Regions from separate parts of the Homo sapiens genome. Here region 1 is linked to region 2. Evidence: promoter capture Hi-C in human tissues and cell types (Jung and others, 2019). All regions are on one chromosome and are shown on one strand. The core of a region is centred on a gene start or on the middle of the fragment in contact, and the rest is flanking DNA. Distances in the headings are between cores, read along the strand shown.

Region 1 (3,105 bases), core at 409-2,908, 81 kb after region 2:
CTCACCAACAATGTGCCTGTTAGAAAGGCACTACTTGGACTCTTTGGAAGTTACTGCCTCACACTCCTCTACTTTACTGGCCATACTCTCTTCAAATGTTCATATCCTCTTTCATGGTCTTATTCTTAGAAGCTGAACTTAACGTCTTCTCTCAATCTTACATTTTTCTGCCTCTTTCCCACCCCCATTATGTGTTTGCTGATACTTTCTTCACATTATATTTCTCAGGACTGTAACTTTAATATTAATATTGCTCTTTTTCCTGGTGATATTTTCTTGTCACATATTTATTTGTCTGGTAGACTCACACATGATGGAGAAAAAATATTTAATATGAATGAGGTAGAATGTTTGGAGGTATCCTAATTTCCTATATATAAATTTAGTTGGGAAAGGAGTTTATGGGGAGATGGCTACCTCAAAGCAAAAGGTGAAGAATCTTTGTGGTAGTATCCTCAATATATATTGGTTGTGTTGGGCATAGGTGGGAGTTTTACTTCATATAAGCTACTCGTTCAATAGATTTTCTGCCAGTTGATAAAAATTGGTATCAAGTAATTCAGCTAAATGAATCATTTTAAATATTCTCTTTAAGGTAAGTTACTAAGAGAAATAAAATAACCAATCATTTTATATTGGCACAGAGGGATTTTTTAATAACAAAAATTGAATTGTAGGATATGTGATGTCTTGATATTTCACCCTAACACTTATTCAGAATGGCAATTGTAATCTATTGTACAAAAATAGAAGAACATTTATTGTATAATGGCACCTGTCAAAACAATGTTTTCCTATTGTTTTCAGTAACTTTTATGGCTTACACACAAGCTAGAAGGTAAGATTGTATAACTAGATTAGAATTATTAAGGTTTCAAATGATAATATACTTGTTATAGCTTTAAGATTTATTTTGTTACTTGAAACTGGCGAGAAGTGCCACATTTATTACAATTTTAAAGGCAATTGCCATATAAAATATGTATATTATATGCATATGACTATATATGAAATTTCTCTCTGTGTGTGTATACCTATGTATTACATATATGCACATAGAAAGAGAATACTTAATTATGTAATTCAACAGGAAAAAATTAACAGGACATTGATAAGCATAAGCATGCTATTCAAGCAACTAATTTGAAAGCTTAGTGTCCAAATTGAAAAGCAGAGTACCTACTCCTCACAGACTATGTAAGTTTTTACCTTTAGAGCTTCTGATTTCCTCGGTCATAAAGCTTAGCATTGGTGGCCATGCGATAGAAGTGCTTATTTACTTTTACTCTGTAAAGTAATTTATCCACAAGAGGAAGAATCCAACAATCCTCTATCTCTGTATTTTCATCTTTGTACTCATAAAGAATAAGGAAAAGTTGCCATTACTTATACCTGATGGAAGATAGAATGGGTTTTAGACCATCTTAAATGGAATCAGTGTTTCAATAAATGGCTGTTGCCTGTGCATCTGCCACTCTTTCAAATACTTGCTGTAAATTGAATGGGTAGGCAGAGAGCTTCTTCAGAGCAGTGGATGAAACCTTTTAAAGACAATTGGGCAGTCATGGGAATCGTGAGGCATTATAATTAAAAGAAGGAAGAAAGACTATGTCAGCAGAAGGGCTACCACAGACATAGCCAAACACTGTAATACCTCAAGGAGAACGCAGTATTGGCACATACTTTCATGTTAATGTAATCTGATACCATATAGTTCATATAGTATTTGACACTCTTATTGCCATTGTCTTTTGTCTTAACTCTGAATATGTCCTTATGTGATGTATATCAAGCTTTCTTCATACCTTTATAAAAGTTGCAATAAAGCTATATTAGGCTGAGTGGATGTAAGCAAGATATAAGAGTAGTGGAAAGAAAAGAAAAATTCAGACAAATATGATGTGTGCTTTTATTTTTTAATCTCTGTGCTAGCAGAAAACTTCATGCATTGCATATAACAACATATGGAAAGTACAAGGTTTTCTGTGAAATGCTTTGTTGACCATCTGTCTTCTCTGGATTGATTGTTCATGCACTTAGTACTAACACTTTTTGTTAGAAAAAAAGGGGCCTTTTTTTAGTAATCAACTTTCTTTCTGGAGTTCTTGAATATAGTAGCTTCATACATTTAATGAAAATGATCTTTAATCAAATAACAGTTAAAATGCAGTTAAAATTGTCCAATGCTTTGAGACATTTAGAAACTATTGATTTAAACAAATTATTCCCATCCTAAAGTATTTCTACATTTTAGTAGAAGGGGAATTAGTCAGTTAAATTAAACATTTTATTTTTAAACAAGTACTTTTCAGGCCTGATAATTTATGCTTCTAAGTTTTTAATAAAGACATGAATCTTCTCTTTATTAGTCCATTGTAAATACACTCATCTTTTAAGTATGCAATTTTCATTGCCCAATAGTTATTCAACTTAGACCATAAGGTTCTCTTTCATTGATGTCAGTGTCACATTATTTGCCTTGGAAATGAAGAATGTTATAAAAGACTTTCCACGATAGCAATATTTGCTATAAAATGCAATTTTTACATACACTACAAGTAGCAATGACATAAGCTTTAGACTAGTAGCAAGTGTAAATAAACACTTCAAATTTCTATTCTGTATCTTTGTGACAAAATATTTTACAAATGGACAAAAAAGCCTATTTGCTAAATACTTAGGGTGTTTGAAATTCATGTCCATAGTAGAAAGAGTTTCACTCTTTCTTTTAAGAAGAATGTTCAGAAAATAACTTTTGATGGCAGTTGCTGAAACTGCAAAAGTAGGCTAAGTAAAGATCAGTCCATTATGTGCAAGTCAAAACTTATGAGGGGAATCCCTACTGTGCCAATTATTAGCTGTGATGTTGGCCATGTTAGTTAACCTCCAAAAGCTTTACTTTTTCCACCAGAAAAGTAAGTATGTACAAGATGGCATACCTGCAATGCCTAGAAATAAATGGACATTTATAATTCCATTTCCAAATCCCTTTCCTCAACAAGGCAGAAAAAAACTAAAAGACAAAACTTTGCAGATGCTGCCTACTTTTGTAAGACGAATGCAGAGGTGCTTCAGCAAATCTGGAAAACCTTAGAAAATTTAAGC
Region 2 (3,202 bases), core at 534-3,033:
TCAAAGTTTGTGAATTTTCAGTATGAAGTAAAATATGTAAAAAAATCTTTTTATTCTATATTGTACACTATATTATGAAATAATAAAAACATCTAGGAAAAATTAGACATGTAACAACTTTAGAAGAAAAGAAGCATACACTTCTCTACTAAAAGTACAAAAAAATTAGCCGGGCATGGTCGTGGGCGCCTGTAGTCCTAGCTACTCCGGAGGCTGAGGCAGGAGAATGGCGTGAACCCGGGAGGTGGAGCTTGCAGTGGGCCGAGATCGCGCCACTGCAATCCAGCCTGGGCAACAGAGAGAGACTCCGTCTCAAAAAAAAAAAAAAAAATTAAGCATACACTTTTGAATGTAGGAGTCATATTTCAAACACAAAATGGTTGTATTTTCAAGGGAAAGTAAACTTTATAATTTAAAACATGGAAAAAGTGACATAAAATACATTTATAATCACAGAGTAAGAATAAAAAGGTGAAATCCACAGATTATTGACAATGTTCTGCAAAGTCATCTCTGTGTTCTTTCATCTAGTCCAGTTTTTAATGGCTTCAAAGGAGCATCTAAAGATATTTCTGGATAATTTTACTCTCATAAATAGGTAGATAGTAATGCTGGCATTCACTTATAAGTCTCAAACAGCAAAGTAAATAAAGCTTTTAAAGCATCTTCCTTCACTTTTCAATCGTTCTCTTCCTTAGTTCTGTTCCCTTCTCATAGTTTTCCTCTCCACTCATGTCCAGTTTCAAAATATTAAATATAAAACCTTTTCAACTCTTGTTCTTAGAAGAGAATTCCTGATGTTACAAGGAAGAAAGTAAGTCTACAACTATTAAGATTTCTGAGTTTTAATTCCGTAGCCACTTTGTAATGGCAAACTAAAATTTTAGGGACTGGGATGATCATGTTGTAAACTTAAGTGGTCATAAAAACAACTTTACTAATATTATTATTCCAGTGATTCCCGTTGATGCCTCCGATGGCTCGGGAAAGTTCTTACACCGCCCCTGTAGTATATGGAAAAGGAAAACAAAACAAAACACAAAACAAAAACAACAAAACCCTCAAAGCCTGTTTAAAATGGCTCGAAGTACCCTTTTAAAGACAGAACCCCAGAGAAAAACGCTGCCAATTCGTTGCTTTATTGTTCCCTGCCTGGGGACCTCAATAGCCTTTTCCATTAACCTTCCCTTCTTACGCAACGGTTAATGACTTTGGGGGTTGTTTTGCTTTCTGTTTCTGCTGAGTCACTAAATTTTGCCTCTTTGTCCCCAGGTGCTGCTCAGCATAAAAGTTAAAAGTGCAATTCAGGAAGTACTGGGATTCTGTGTAGAGCCGAGGAAACCATTTCCCTAAGAGAAGCTCTGTTCCTTGGCTTGTCCTTCCTTCCCGGGAAGGAAGCTTCCGAGGAACGAAGGGAGAAGCTTTGTTTTGCCTGCAGAAGCAGCCCTGTGCTCGGCTGAGGGTTCTCAGCTGGCTGTGAACTGCGGAGCATTGTAGGCGCCTGGCTGGCTCAGGCCAATGCAGAAGTCTCTCCCTTCTCCAAAGACCCAAATCCCCACAGAACCAGCTTCGAGTTACTTTCCCTTCAAGGGGATTAAAATAATTGTGATTTGTGGCGCTCTCCGTTCGCGGTGGTATTTTCCTGTTGTGTTAAATGCCTCTTATTAAGTAATAGATGTGATTTATGTGAACGACGAAGGGGTGTGTGGTGGATTCGGTGATTAATCAGTGAATTCCCATCCGCTGGCATCTCTCACTGCCCCTCTTGCGTGATGTAAGATCAGACGTACCCTGCATTGAAAAGTCAAGACACACGGGCGTCTCGCTCGCGCTCACACACGCTCTGCCTCCTCTCTCCCGCACGCGCGCATCCCTCCACCTTCCACATCCTGCTCCAGGCAGGAGAAGGCTGACTGGCTGGACTCATTGAGCTGAAGAATTTCCAGTGACATTTGTAAATGACGCCGCTCGATTCCAGGCTCCAAGCGGCCCCTGCCGCCGCCGCCGCCGCCGGGCCGAAGGTGCCGCCGAGCAGTCTCCAGCGCAGGCTTCCTTACCGGGCGACCACAATGTCCGAGTTTCTCCTCGCCTTACTCACTCTCTCGGGATTATTGCCGATTGCCAGGGTGCTGACCGTGGGAGCCGACCGAGGTAAGGAGAACACCTCCCCGCTCCCCTCCCCTGACTTCCTTGGCTTTCCTGCTGGGCGATGCTTGCAGATAAGTGAGTGTGAAACTTAAGTCCTTGCAGCTCCGCTCCCCGGGACCGGGTGACCACCGTGCGCTGGCCCTGTGCGGGGGTGAGAGGTGCGGTGCGGGATTTCTGAACCAAGTGCCTGAGTCCTCGGCACCCCCACAGCTTTTCCCTTTGGCCGTTTCCCGGTCCCCATTTTGTCCCCTCCGGGAGTGTGTGCACTTGGCTGTGCGCTTCTGTCCGCGAATTCTAAGCGCTGCAGATGTTGGAATGAGAATTCGCATTTCCGAAAGACTTCCCTCCGCGATGGCCCTCAACTGCGAGCTTTTGCGAGCTCCAGGTTCTCCGCGTTAAGCGTGTCCGCCCTCAACTTAGCTCCCAGGTTAACTTCCTTACCTGCTGCATTCGAGGTCCGTGGAGCGGCGAAAGCGCCGATTCAGGCCCCTTTCGTTTCTATAGCCCCTTCCTGGGGGCAGACTGGGGTCAGAGTCCTGTCATCAGCAGAGAGGCTTTTAGGACGATTCCGGGCGCACGCACCTGCTTGAAATTGACTTTTCGATTATGAGGGTCTGTGACACAGCCCAGGTGCTCTGAGGGGCTAACCCACCCCTGGAGTGCCTCTCTCCAGTCTGGCGCTTTGCTTTTCCTTTTTCTCCAAGCAGCTGGTGAATGGTAGAAGTTTAGAAGGGAATGGATATGGGGAGCAGAGGAGAAAGGAGGTAGGAATTAGAAAAAGCCGGGATTCTATAAACTTTTCATCTGGAAAATCAAGAATCCCTGTGCGAGTTTAATAATCTTTGACAACAGATGCACTGGTGAAAAAGGGAGGAAAATACTAGATGAATATTTGGGGCACTGGCCCTGGCCTTGGAATGGTTAACTGGTTAAAGTAAAATCAGAAGTATCATAGATTTTTTTAAAATCAGAAAATGAGCTTATATTGACTGGTATAGTTCAGCTTTTTAGTTTAAATAAGAGAGAGAGAGAGAGAGAGAGAGAGAGAGAGAGA

What was found. The method cuts DNA at HindIII sites, captures the fragments that hold promoters and counts their contacts. A contact is called where the count stands out against the background at its distance.
Region 1: a fragment that was not itself captured here is called in contact with the fragment with the promoter of LRP1B in region 2 in 2 of the 25 tissues and cell types used here (H1 embryonic stem cells and hippocampus).

What each region holds. Positions count from the first base shown.
Region 1 is chr2:142,048,097-142,051,201 of GRCh38, reverse strand. All of the region lies in intron 1 of LRP1B (LDL receptor related protein 1B), which reads left to right. Among named protein-coding and RNA genes, the nearest start is that of LRP1B, 81 kb to the left of the region's middle. The HindIII fragment of the contact is 3,706 bases long and covers 1-3,105 here.
Region 2 is chr2:142,129,597-142,132,798 of GRCh38, reverse strand. It overlaps LRP1B (LDL receptor related protein 1B), which reads left to right and starts at 1,783. Exons shown (of 91, transcript NM_018557.3): 1 at 1,783-2,151. The coding sequence starts at 2,070. RefSeq lists an enhancer at 716-1,915. The HindIII fragment of the contact is 3,160 bases long and covers 1-2,863 here.